Linked DNA regions of Homo sapiens: regions 2 and 3 are each linked to region 1. Evidence: promoter capture Hi-C in human tissues and cell types (Jung and others, 2019). All regions are on one chromosome and are shown on one strand. Each heading gives the region's core, a stretch centred on a gene start or on the middle of the fragment in contact. The rest is flanking DNA. Distances are from core to core; before and after follow the strand shown.

Evidence for each region. The method cuts DNA at HindIII sites, captures the fragments that hold promoters and counts their contacts. A contact is called where the count stands out against the background at its distance.
Region 2: a contact is called between a fragment that was not itself captured here and the fragment with the promoter of HUNK in region 1, in 5 of the 25 tissues and cell types used here (dorsolateral prefrontal cortex, heart left ventricle, hippocampus and 2 more).
Region 3: a contact is called between a fragment that was not itself captured here and the fragment with the promoter of HUNK in region 1, in 6 of the 25 tissues and cell types used here (H1 embryonic stem cells, dorsolateral prefrontal cortex, liver and 3 more).

Annotation. Positions count from the first base shown.
Region 1 is chr21:31,870,832-31,875,243 of GRCh38, forward strand. HUNK (hormonally up-regulated Neu-associated kinase) reads left to right here and starts at 2,189. Exons shown (of 11, transcript NM_014586.2): 1 at 2,189-3,104. The coding sequence starts at 2,844. RefSeq lists silencers at 2,307-2,356, 3,283-3,462. The HindIII fragment of the contact is 17,092 bases long and covers 1-4,412 here.
Region 2 is chr21:31,767,787-31,772,198 of GRCh38, forward strand. No RefSeq gene overlaps it. Among named protein-coding and RNA genes, the nearest start is that of SCAF4, 38 kb to the left of the region's middle. The HindIII fragment of the contact is 4,194 bases long and covers 1-4,119 here.
Region 3 is chr21:31,965,963-31,970,374 of GRCh38, forward strand. It overlaps HUNK (hormonally up-regulated Neu-associated kinase), which reads left to right. Exons shown (of 11, transcript NM_014586.2): 6 at 2,288-2,423. Among named protein-coding and RNA genes, the nearest start is that of HUNK, 95 kb to the left of the region's middle. The HindIII fragment of the contact is 5,459 bases long and covers 1-4,412 here.

The DNA.
Region 1 (4,412 bases), core at 939-3,438:
TTGTGTACTAATTTGTTTTACATAAAGACATTTCTGGGGTGATTTCTTGTTAAACAGGCCATTTCAGAGACTAGGACTTGTAGTTCCAAAACCAGTTACAAAGGGGACGCACGGATAGGATTTGGACTTCTCTTTGGCATCCATCCCAGCTTATGGAATTAGCAGTGAACTTGAATCAAACCCAGGCAGCAGGCTTGAAAAAGATTTAATGGGCCTGGATTTTCTCTCTTCTTCACCCCTTTCCTGACCTCTACCCTGAGAGGATAATTAAAAGGAAAGAAAATCTCTATTTCATTGTAAATGTCATCCACCATTTTTATGAAACTTTTTTTTTTTAGACCATAAAAATACTTTGGGGAACAGTCTCAGAAATTTCCCTTAAACCTTAATAAATAAATCTCTAAATTTTCATAAAGAGTGCATGTCCTAACATTAAAAAAAATCATACTCTATTAACACAACATTGGGTGGACTCCCAAACTGTTTCTGATGGAAGATTCAGAGTGGTTTTTTTTTTTTTTTTTTTGAGAAGGAGTCTTGCTCTGTCGCCCAGGCTGGAGTGCAGTGGCAAGATTTCAGCTCACTGCAACTTTCGCCTCCTGGATTCAAGCAATTCTCTGCCTCAGCCTCCCGAGTAGCTGGGATTACAGGCGCCCGCCACCACGCCCGGCTAATTTTTGTATTTCTAGTAGAGACAGGGTTTCACCATCTTGACCAGGCTGGTCTTGAACTCCTGACCTCGTGATCTACCTGCCTCGGCCTCCCAAAGTGCTAGGATTACAGGCGTGAGCCACCGCGCCCGGCCTCAGAGTGGTTTTTACCCCAAAGTGAGCTCCATATTCCTCATTCTTTAGACAGTTGCTGGACATCTATTCTGCTGGCACCACGCTAGTTACCATTCCCCTCCCATGCAACTGTCCTGTTAAGATTTGATTACTGAATTAGAGACATTAAAAGGATTGAATGAACGTTACTGAAATAGTCAAGGCCGGTGGGAGCAAAGAAGTCCCTTCAGCACAGCAAGAAAAACATTTTAAGCTGTATCTTTAATATTGGTAAACGGGAACAATGAGACAGAACAACAGAAAACGCAGTATGTTCCGTCATAATAACTGAGGCTGGTGACTTGTAACAGGTAGGTGGATGAATATAGTAGCGTATTTAAAATTAGATGTATTGAAAGCAGGCATTTCTCTGCGTCCCTCTTCAGATGGGTCAGCGAGACCCCCAGACACTGGATTGATGACAGCTGTTGTTCCCCCACCCCCCACTCCCAATCTCAAAGCATTGCTATGGGTCGATGTCATACTTGTTTACTCAGGAATAAACAATGAAAGGAACTTTGTTAGGACCAAATCCTTCCTTTCAGCTCTGATGTTGCATGATCGGGGTGAAGTTTCCATCAAATGCGGGCACCTCAACAGGTAGCATTTTGTAAATGCCTCCTCCTACCTACCCTCCTCCTTCTCCCTCACAAGATTCTTCATTTTCGGTTTGAGAAGACGTTGGGGATCCTGGGAGAGGGTCCAGTGTCGTCAGGGCAGTTGCAATTGTTTATGCGATGAGCACAGTCACAGCGCTTGCAGAACAAAAGCATCGAAGAGAGGCGAGCGCCGGTCCACCTCCTGCAATCACAGGCATCATTTCAATGGAAGGCAAAGAAGGTGTAAGCTACAAGCAGAGGCAGCAAACGCCCTGGTTCCTACATTGCTGCTGCTACTATTACTGCTGTGGCTGCGCCTCCTCCAACACAGCCAACCAGGCTGCGTGCGAGCCCGGGCAGACGCCTGGCCGCCTCCCCACCCTTTCTTCCAGCCATCCATCTATCCTTCCACCCCCGGTCCAGGGGGCCCTACTGTGTGGCGGACTCAGGGCCGGGCACGCAACCCGACTCACAGTCCACGGAGTTCGAGAGCCTTCCCCCTTCCCCCCGCCCCGGGTGGGTGCGGCCAGTGGGGGATTTCACCGCCGAAAGGTCCAGAAAACCCAAGCCCAGAATCCGGGCAAGAGGCGCAGCCGGAGGCGGCCCGACCTGGGCGGCCCGGGAGCGCGCGCCTCCGAGGCCGCGCAGGTTCTCCCTGTCTGGCGCTCAGGTGGCTTCTCCGTCCACTCCGCCGCTCCCCTCCCCGGGCCCTCCCCTCTCCAGCGAGGGTCGAGTTTGACTGTGGCGCGCGGGGAAGGAGGGGCTACTAGGGATTTGAAAGTGCACGGGCTGCGGAGTGGAGCTCGCATCTGTTCCCGCCGCCCGCGAGCGGATTAAATTTCTGCAAATTCAAACTGAATGGGGCTTTCTTCTGCTGCCTTCCAGAGGGCGCCGGCAGCCCGCCGCGCGCTTCTCTCCGGCGGGAGCGGCCGCCCAGCGCACGGCTAGGAGCGATCGCGGGAGCCCGACCCAAGCCCGTGCGGGCCAGACGGCGGCGGCGAGGCGGAGGCTGCGGAGGCACCCGGGCTCCCGGACCCAGGCACCCGGACCCCGGGACCCAGGCGCCGCCGGACCGCGCCCCACCCCGCGCGCCCGAGCAGGGCGACTGTCATTAGCTTCCTGGACGGGACCCGGGGCGGGATCCTGGTGTCCTGAAAGGGGCCCGGGCGACCCTAAGAGGAAGAACTTTTGGGGGCGGGGTCCCCGGTCCCGCGTCCCCTGGGCAGCCGCTATTGTCTACGCGCCTCGCTGGGCGGCGCGGGGGGCGTGATCGCGGCGGCCCCGGGCTCTGGGTGCGGAGACCCAGGCGGGGCTGGGCCCAGGGCGGCGGCGGGAGAAGCCGGGGAAGCCGAAGAGCCTGGGGAGGAGGAGCTGCGAGCGCGGGAGACGAGCAGGAGCCGCGCGGGCCGCGGCGAGCGCGATGCCGGCGGCGGCGGGGGACGGGCTCCTGGGGGAGCCGGCGGCGCCTGGGGGCGGCGGCGGCGCGGAGGACGCGGCCAGGCCCGCGGCGGCCTGCGAGGGAAGTTTCCTGCCTGCCTGGGTGAGCGGCGTGCCCCGCGAGCGGCTCCGCGACTTCCAGCACCACAAGCGCGTGGGCAACTACCTCATCGGCAGCAGGAAGCTGGGCGAGGGCTCCTTTGCCAAGGTGCGCGAGGGGCTGCACGTGCTGACCGGGGAGAAGGTGAGTCTCCCGGGCGCCGTGGGGCTGGGGCACAGGGGCGGGAGTCGGCGGCCAGGACCCCGCGGGGAGCACTGCACTGGGAGTCCCAGTGTGCAGTCCCGGGCCAAGCGCCTTCCCCCTCCGCCCGGCTTTCCTGTTGGGTTAAAACGCGCGCTCAGCATCTCGCAGCCTTTCCCGAAGGCGGCCTGCGGTCCGCTGCCCGGGGGTTGGGGGCTTGGGAGGGGACGGCCTTGCCCCGGGAAGCGTCCCGCGCGGCCGTTCTGCTCGTGGAAGGGCGCCGCCTGGCGACACTAGCGCGGGGGGCGGGATGGGGCCCCTCTGCCCTTCAGGCCGGCAGGGGCGGCGGATCCGTGGCGAGGCGGGAACCAGGGCTAGAGGAGGTGGGCTCTTATGTCGGGGGGCGGGGGGGGCAGGAAAGCTAACAGCCAGCCTCTGGGGGGAGCTTAGAGTCTGATCCCCGTCCTGGGCTCTCGGAGGAGGTGGGAGAAGGCTGAGATCCTGCATTCCTTCCCACCTGTGGGCTCCGGCAGCTAGGGAATGTTTTTTGGCAGCTAGGGAATTTTTCGTGCTCAGAGGAGGGTTTTTGCCTCCGCCCTCCACTTGTCCATCCCTCAACCTGTGCTCCTCTCTATCCACTCAACCCTCCCACCCCTGCCCCCTCATCACCCACCATTCTCATCCCCGCCATTCTCATCCCCTTCTCTCCGTTCCCCCAGCTCCTCTGTGCCCTCCAGCCTCAGGGTGGGAGCTGCAGTGAAGACCCTGCTACTGGCAGGAACAGAACTACAGATACCTCCCCCCAGAGACTGGGAGATGCCTTCTTATCTTTCTAGAAGAGGGGAAAGGAAAGGGGACCTCCGCGAGACCAAAAGGGGCACCTCTCCAGCCTTGTTGGAAGTTAGATGGTTGTGAACCCTTGCCAGGCGAGGGGCAGGTAAGATGGAAGGTGTAACTTAGAGCTGTGAGAAGAAACCCAAGAGCTTGGTGACTCGCTTTTGAGGCCGGGTCACCCCAGGCTGGAGCTGCCCGAGCTCAGAGCCAATCCAGGCTGGAGCTGTCCCAAGCTCCTGTCATCTCGGGCTCAAGACTGCCCCCAGGCTGGGGGTGGCTCAAACCTGGAGGGGGACCAGCTCCTTTGTGTGGTCCGTGGGTCAGGGAGGCGTCAGCCGCAAGGAGGGAAGGCGGAGTTCACTTCCCAACCGAGCAGGTGGCCTGGGAGCCGAGCCCTCTGCCTTCCGACCTGGGGGCCTCTGCCCAGCCTGGGGCTGCCCTGTGAAACCCCTGGTCACAGGGCCAACCTGCCCTTCC
Region 2 (4,412 bases), core at 773-3,272, 100 kb before region 1:
TTAGGGATAGATCTTTGAGTATCTCTTTAAGTTCCTTGATAGTAATGATTCTATTTAACATTCCTAATTTTCCTTGAATGAATCTTTGTAATTAATATTTTTCTAGGATATTAGTCTCTTCATCCAGTACTTTTCAAAATGCTTGCCATGAAGATAAACATTCTTAGTTTTTGACTTGTGATTTTTTCTTGAAAGATAAGCCAAAGTTTTGCCTTTCTATTACTTCTCTCAAAAAACAAGTTAATTTTTATTTTTTAACTTTTATTTTAAGTTCAGGGGTACATATGCAGGTTTGTTATATAGGTAAACTTGTGTCATGGGGGTTTGTTGTACAGATTATTTCATCACCCAGGTATTAAGCCTAGTACCTATTAGTTATTTTTCCTGATCCTCATCTCCAGCCCCTGATAGGACCCCGTGTGTATTGTTCCCCTCTATGTGTCCATGTGTTCTCATCATTTAGCTCTCACTTAAAAACGAAAACATGCGGTTTTGGTTTTCTGTTTCTGTGTTAGTTTGCTAAGGATATTGGCCTCTAGCTCCATCCATGTTCCTGCAAAAAATATGATCTCATTCTTTTTTTATGGCTGCATAGTATTCCATGTGTATATGTACCACATTTTCTTTTTCCAGTGTATCATTGATGGGCATTTAGGTTGATACCGTGCCTTTGCTATTGTGAATAGTGCTGCAATGAACATACACATGCATGTGTCTTTATAATAGAACAATTTATATTCCTTTGGGCATATACCCAGTAATGGGATTGCTGGGTCAATTGGTATTTCTGCTTTTAGGTCTTTGAGAAATCGCCACACTGTTTTCCACAATGGTTGAACTAATTTACACTCCCACCAACAGTGTATAAGTGTTTCCTTTTCTCTGCAACCTTGCCAGCATCTGAAAAACCAGTCACCACATGCTATCACCTCTTTATTTTCTATTTTTATTAATTTCTACTCTTATCTTTCTTAATTCATTCCTTCAACTTTCTTCAGGTTTATTTTGTCTCTCTCCATCCCCTGCCAAGCTTCTTGAGTTGAAATCTTGGTTGATTCATTTATTTTCAACATTTCTTATTTTCTGTCACATGCACATAAGGCTATGTATTTTCCCTGTGAGTGCTGTCTTAGCGTGTCCCAAGGGCCTTGATATCCATGGACAGCTCTTACTGTGATTCAGTTCTAAATGGCTTGTAATTTCTGTGCTTATTTCCTGTCAAACCTAAGACTTATTTAGTGGAATGTTTTAAAATATCCAAGAGGATAGATTTTTGTTTGTTATCCATCTTTTATTATTTTCTAATTTTATTCCATTATAGTTCATGAATGTATGCTGTCACAGTTTTACTATTGGGGATTTGTTGTGATTTTCTTTGTGGTTTAATACATTCAGAGAATGTCTCATGAGAGTTGGAAAAAAATGTGTAATGTCTGTTGGATAAAAACTTGTTTCTCTCCATATGCCTATGAAGTTATAAATGTTAGTTTTGTCAGCCAGGACTTCTTAAGACATATTCATTTGGGTAGTAGTTGATCAGCCTGTTTTTGAGAAATGTATTTAAAGCCACCCATGATGGGGACTTACCAGTGATTCCTTGCATTTCTATCAGGGCTTGTCTTACTTACAGATTTTGAGGCCAAGGTTGTAGGTACATAAATGTTTATGATTCATATTTTTGTGGATTATAATGTTATAATTATGATATATTCTTTTAATGCTTTTCATTTTGAATTTTATTTTGTGTGAGATGACTACTATTAATATATACCTGGCATGCCTTTTTCTTTTATTTTCTTTTTTTGTCATCCAGGCTGGAGTGCAGTGTCATCCAGGCTGGAGTGCAGCCTGTCTGTCATCCAGGCTGGAGTGCAGTGGCACAATCTTGGTTAACTGCAACCTCCCTGCCTCCCAGGCCCAAGTGGTCCTTCCACCTCAGCCTCCTGAGTAGCTGCGACCACAGGCCTGCACCAGCATGCCTGACTGATTTTTGTATTTTTGTATTTATTTATTTATTTTTTGAAACAGAGCTTTGCTCTTGTTGCCCAGGCTGGAGTGCAATGGCATGATCTTGGCTCACTGCAACCTCTGCCTCCTGGGTTCAAGCGATTCTCCTACCTCAGCCTCCCAAGTAGCTGAGATTACAGGCATGCACCACCACACCCAGCTAATTTTGTATTTTTAGTAGTGACAGGGTTTCTCCACGTTGGTCAAGCTGGTCTCGAACTCCCTACCTCAGGTGATCCGCCCGCCCCGGCCTTCCAAAGTGCTGGGATTACAGGCGTGAGCTACCGTGTCTGGCCTAATTTTTGTGTTTTTTTTTTTTTTTTTTTTGAGACGGAGTCTCACACTGTCACCTGGGCTGGAGTGCAATGGTGCGATCTCAGCTCATTGCAACCTCCGTCTCCCAGGTTCAAGCGATTGTCCTGCCTCAGCCTCCCGAGTAGCTGAGATTACATAATTTTTGTATTTTTAATAGAGATGGGGTTTCGCCGTGTTGGTCAGGCTGGTCTCGAACCCTTGACCTCAGGTCATCCACCTGCCTCAGCCTCCCAAAGTTCTGGGATTATAGGTGTGAGCCACTGCGCCCGGCCTAGCATGCCTTTTTCGATGTCTTTTCCATCTTTCCTGTGTTCTTTTCATTAGGTGTTAGGATTGCTGATATGTTTGGCCTTCTTTCTGGCTGTGGCAGAAAAGTCACAATGGTCTTTCCCAAGTATATGCCATTTGGCTACCAAAAATGCATCCTCCCTTTCCTAGCATGGAAAGTGACAGCCCAGTCAAGGGCTATTTTCTCAACCCTCTTCATGCCCAGTTATGGTCATGTGATTAGTTCTCAGCAATGAAATGTGGGCAGCAGTGATGGGAATCACTAAGGACTTAATGTTTTTCTCTGCTTTTATTGAATGCGCACTTAATTGGTGATGATTTGCAGAGAAGTGGAGAAAGCAGGGAACTAAGGAGTTTCTATTTGTTTACTGATTCTAAGCCCTGAAAATGCCAGGTGATCGGGGGTGATCAGACGTGTCTGAATCACGTTGGTGGTGCCAGTGACTTGCTTGATGTTTGCCTTCCCCATCACTTCAGCTCCCTGAGGCCTGGGACTGTGCCTACCAAGTGCTACATGGTCTCCCTAAAGCTTGGGTTATAGTACACTCTTTATTAACATTTATTGTGTGAATAAATGAAATGCTTTACATTTACTGGTGACCTCATCAACTAATTCTTTTTTTTTTTTTTTTTTTGAGACGGAGTCTCGCTCTGTCACCTAGGCTGGAGTATAGTGGCGCACGTCGGCTCACTGCAAGCTCCGCCTCCCAGGTTCACGCCATTCTCCTGCCTCAGCCTCCGAAGTAGCTGGGACTACAGGCGCCCGCCACCACGCCCAGCTAATTTTTTGTATTTTTAGTAGAGACGGGGTTTCACCATGTTAGCCAGGATGGTCTCGATCTCCTGACCTCATGATCTGCCTGCCTCGGCCTCACAAAGTGCTGGGATTACAGGCGTGAACCACCGCGCCTGGCCTTCATCAACTAATTCTTTTGGTAAATGAATTTCTGCTTAAACCAGGCCAAGACCTTTCTTTATAAGAAGCCAGGCCAGTGAATCAGGGAGTGAGATCAGAGGAAAGGAAGTCTCCCTTTTGTGTCTTTAAGTCATGTATTGTGCCGTGACTAGCTGGAAAAGCTGCAAAATAGTATAATAGAAGCTGTATATATCAGCAATAGCAAGGATTACTTGTCTGAGAACCTGGTTTGTGCCAGGCACTGACCTTGATGCTTTTCATACATTGCTTCATTGAATACTCATAAAAGCTACCACACAGGTGTGATTCTCCCTATTTTACAGATGCATCAGCTGAGGCTCTGTGCGGTAAATAAGTTGTTCAATGACAGAGACCAAGTAAGTGGCCAAGTCAGGACTCATATCCGTCTTCCTGACTTCGAGCTTGAATTCCCTTCTACCATACCTTATAAAAAGAATTCAGCAGCCTGAGGTTCAAGGTTCAGCTGCATGATATTGAGAATTCATTTAGTTTCTCTGAGCCGCCATCTCCTTATTTGTGGAATGGAGATAATGATGACACTGATTGATGCTCAGCTCCTCACAGAGTTATTGTAAAGACAAGTGAGAGAATGACTATGTGTTTTGCAAGTGATTAAATTCACAAACACAAGTCACTTTACTTACAGTATACTGGAGACACTTACATTAGGCTTTTAAACATTTATATATATATGTATATATATTTTTTGATACAGGGTCTCACTTTGTCACCCAGGCTGGACTGCAGTGGTGCAATCTTGGCTCACTGCAGCCTAGACCTCCAGGACTCAAGAGGTCAGATCCTCCCAACTCAGCCTCCTGAGTAGCTGGGACTACAGGTGTGTGCCACCATGCCTGGCTAATTT
Region 3 (4,412 bases), core at 853-3,352, 95 kb after region 1:
GATAAGTTCCTTAGTGGCGATTTCTGAGATTTGGGTGCATCCATCGCCTGAGCAGTGTACACTGTACCCAATGTGTAGTCTATTATCCCCTGCCCCTCTCCTACCCTTCCCTCCAAGTCCCCAAAGTCTATTGTATCATTCTTATGCCTTTGCACCTTCATAGCTTAGCTCCCACTTACGAGTGAGAATACACAATGTTTGGTTTTTCCATTCCTGGGTTACTTCACTTAGAATAATGGTCTCCAACTCCATCCAGGTTGCTGTGAATGCCATTAGTTTGCTCCTTTTTATGACTGAGTAGTATTCCTTGGTGTTTATATATATGACATGTATATATATATGTCACATTTTCTTTATCCACTTGTTAATTGATGGGAATTTGGGCTGGTTCCATATTTTTGCAATTGTGAATTGTGCTGCTATAAACATGTGTGCAAGTGTCTTTTTCATGTAATGACCTATTTTCCTTTGGGTAGATACCCAGTAGAGACTACCCACTATTGAAAGGGAGATGACCTGGTAACCTCTTCAACAGTATGGGAACCCACCCTGGTGGTGGGTTGACCATGGAGGTTGACCTGGCTGCATGACCTAGCAAAGATTGTTTCTCTTGAGTTGATTCTGGCATCACAACTGGCCCCTTTTTTGATGGCCTCATTTTTACCCTGCAGAAAATGAGTTGACAAAAGGCTCAGCATTTCCTCAAGAACAATGTTCAAATGACAACTTAAAGCTTTTGAGAAAGTAGGACATTTTATGGCTTCTCCTTGCAAAGAAGATTACTTTAGAAAACTGAAAAAATAACTTTGAAGAGAAGGATAGAAAAATCGGGGGACCAAGCACATTATTATTTTCTGGGATCTATTATTTGGTATGTTGGAAATCAAGTACAAAGCTACGTAAAAGAATTCTTCATATTGCAAAAACATTACCGCAATACTTTGTAAAATAAGGGCTATAGCATAAGAAAAGATCACAGTCCCACAACTCAAGCAAGACAGACCGTCTGCATTTTGAAGTCATCCCTGCCATTCTTTGCCCACATGTGGGTATGCTGTATATTCTTCTGCTGAACAATTTTGCAGCCTTAGAAGGGCCTTCATGGGTTGGGTGTGGTGGCTTACACACTTAATCCCAACACTTTGGGAGGCTGAGGCAGGAGGATCGCTTGAGCTCAGGGGTTTGAGACCAGCCTGGGCAACATGGCAAAACCCCATCTCTACCAAAAAAATAAAAAAAGTATCCAGGTGTGACGGTGCATGCCTGTAGTCTCACCTACTTGGAAGGCTGAGGTGGGAAGGTCACCTGAGCCAGAGAGATCAAGGCTGCAGTGAGCCATGATGGCACAACTGCACTCCAGCCTGGGCGACAGTGTGAGACTCTGTCTCCAAAATATAAAAAATAATGAATAAAATAAATACAAAATAAAAGGCTTCGTGTGCATTATAAACGCATTTTTACCTCTCATACAGTTGTTTCCGTTGTTATAATCTTAAAGGATGCAAATGTTCTGCTTAGAGATGAATTAGCTTCTTATCTCCAGTGCTTGAATGGACAAGTGCTCTGTAAATATTTGTGAAATGAAAGGAAACCCAGGGCATTTAAAACATTATTTTTGGCCAGGCGTGGTGGCTCAGGCCTATAATCCCAGCACTTTGGGAGGCTGAGGCGGGGAGGTGGGCGGCGGTGCAGAATGGCTTTAAAGGAAAGGATCAGAAAGCAGGACCTCTCTGGCCCCTTGAGACTCTGAGTGTCCTGTGGTGCCCAGTTGAGAGGTCTAACTTAGGATGCCTGTACACTTCTGGCTTCTCCCTGAGTGCTCAAAAACCTACCTTGCGAGCAGGCATTTTCTGTTTATTTTCTTTCATTCCTACAAGCCTGTCAATAGTGCATCTCTTTGGCTCACCTATGAGCAACAAGAAAAGACCACAGGTTGTCTTGGGAAACACGGAATGGGGAGACCCAAACTGGTTCTTGCTGTATCATGTACCAGTTGCTCCCCTTGGACAGAGAAATTAAATTCTTTGGCTATGTGGTGTGTATTTTTTAAAGAGAGAGAGGGGGAAATGGGATTTTCCACACCCCTCCTGTCTGAAGGGAGGTGGGGCTGAAACCAAGCTCCACGATTCATTGAATCGGAACCCTGCCCAGAGACCTAGAGAAGAGATCACCCCAGCAGTGACTCGGGATGGGCAGGCAAGGTGGCGAGTCCCCTGTGATGGTGGCTTTCACTGGTGTCTGCGTTCAGCCTGTAACATGCGTGCATTCTTTCCCAAATGTCTCCCAGGTGCCATCAGTTTCCTGCGCTCTCTCCTGGAACCGGATCCTGTGAAGAGGCCAAATATTCAGCAGGCACTGGCGAATCGCTGGCTTAATGAGAATTACACGGGCAAAGTGCCCTGTAATGTCACCTATCCCAACAGGTAATTTCGTGCACCCAGAGGAACTCCTCGGGAGAGACGGGGCCTGTCCTACTAGCCCTGAGCAGTTCCGGACAGAAAGCTGTCCGTGATTGAAGGAAAAGCCGCGCTCTCTCTTGGCTATCTCCCCTTCCCCCTAACACCCACACCCACACATCCACAAGAGGAAGCGTAGACAGGGCCACCATGTGCTGTTATGCCGTGTGCCCTGCAGGGGCACCTGGAGGAGAGGTGAGTGGAGGCTGATATCCAGGCTTTGAGGGTCTGTATCTTCCCAGGGGTTGCCTTTTTCTAGTTCACACAGAGGGACCTTTGAGACTAGCTGTGGCCCGAGTGTGTGTGTGTGTGTGTGTGTGTGTGTGTGTGTGTGTGAGAGAGAGAGAGTGAGTGTCTATGTCTGCTTGGGTCTCCATGTGCATGGGTGTTGTGTCTGTGTGTGTGTATGTGTTGTGTGTAAATTTGTGTGTGTGTGTGTGTGTGTGTGTGTGTGTGTATGTCTTTGTTTTGTTTTTTTAATACATAGTCTGGCTCTGTCACCCAGGCTGGAGTGCAGTGGCGTAATCTCAGATCACTGCAACCTCTGCCTCCTGGTTTCAAGCGATTCTTATGCCTCAGCCTCCTGAGGAGCTGGGATTACAGGAACGTGCCACCACACCAGGCTAATTTTGTATTTTTAGTAGAGACGGGGTTTCACCTCTTGCCCAGGCTGGTCTTGAACTCCTGACCTCAAGTGATCCGCCTGCCTTGGCCTCCCAAAGTGCTGGGATTTCATGTGTGAGCCAACGTGCCCGGCCAGTCCTTGTGTTGTGAGTGTGTTTGCGTGTGTGTGATCAGCTCACGAGCCCACCTGCCAACATCAAACAGAAACATGGGATCGCCCCTCCCTTTCCAAACCACCCTTAGATGCCTTCTTCTGCCTTGTTCTTGATGTTTATTTCAGCCCTAAGACCCCTGCCTTAAAATGTGGGAGGCAGGAAGGAAAGGCATAGGAGTCATTCGTTTTAGGCCGGGTGTCCCTATGAACTTTCCGTGAAGGCTTCACTTTATCAGTTTCCATGAGGAGGGTTCTTTAAGCAAAGCTTGCAGACAGGAACCCACAGCATAGGAGCACTGATGGGCTCCCTGTGCAGCCCACGCTTCTCCATGCTGGTGCGCTAACTACAGATTAAAAAACATTTCTCTTTTTTCTTTTTTTTTTTTTTGAGACAAAACCTTACTCTGTCACCCAGGCTAGAGTGTAGTGGCATGGTCATGGCTCGCTACAGCCTCCACCTCCTGAGCTCAAGGGAGTCTCCCACCTCAGCCTCCTGAGTAGCTGTGACCACAGGCATGAGCCACCATGTCAGGCACATTTTCTATTTTTCTTCAGAGACAGGGTTTTGCCATGTTGCCCAGGCTGGTCTCAAACTCCTGGGCTCAAGTGATCCTCCTGCCTCTCAAGGTGCTGAGATTACAGGCTTGAGCCACTGTGCCCGGCCAAAAACATTTCCTTGTATATTTTTTTCTACTCATTTGTCCTATTTCTAACTAACCTGAGCGAGGGAATGAGGGCCCTTATTTTGGCTGTTTTTGAGCAAACAAGGAAACCACGTGGGTTCAGTACCTTCCAAGACTGGGACCCACCTTCCTTCTTCCTTCAGACCTAGGGTGGCTTGCACATTTGACCAGGCTTGGATGAAGACAAGAGAACCACTGACCCAGAGGGGCAGATAGGAGACTGAAAGGGCAGAGAAAGGGGTGTCCTGTGTGGTCATAGGTTCAATGCCTAGGAAGGTCTAGAAACACCCACCAAGCCTTATGAAAGCAGAAGTGCTGAGTCCTTCAAAGAAGATGGCCAGGCAGGGCTCTGCTTGGGATGGAAGCTCTAGAAAAACTTTAAAGGGGCGTGGGAGTCTGCATCCACACTTCAGTGCCAAATTTACACTCACCGTGCCCAGAGAGGAGGTGGTTTCACTCCGTTGCCATCTAGAATTCTAGCATTTGGCTCATGGG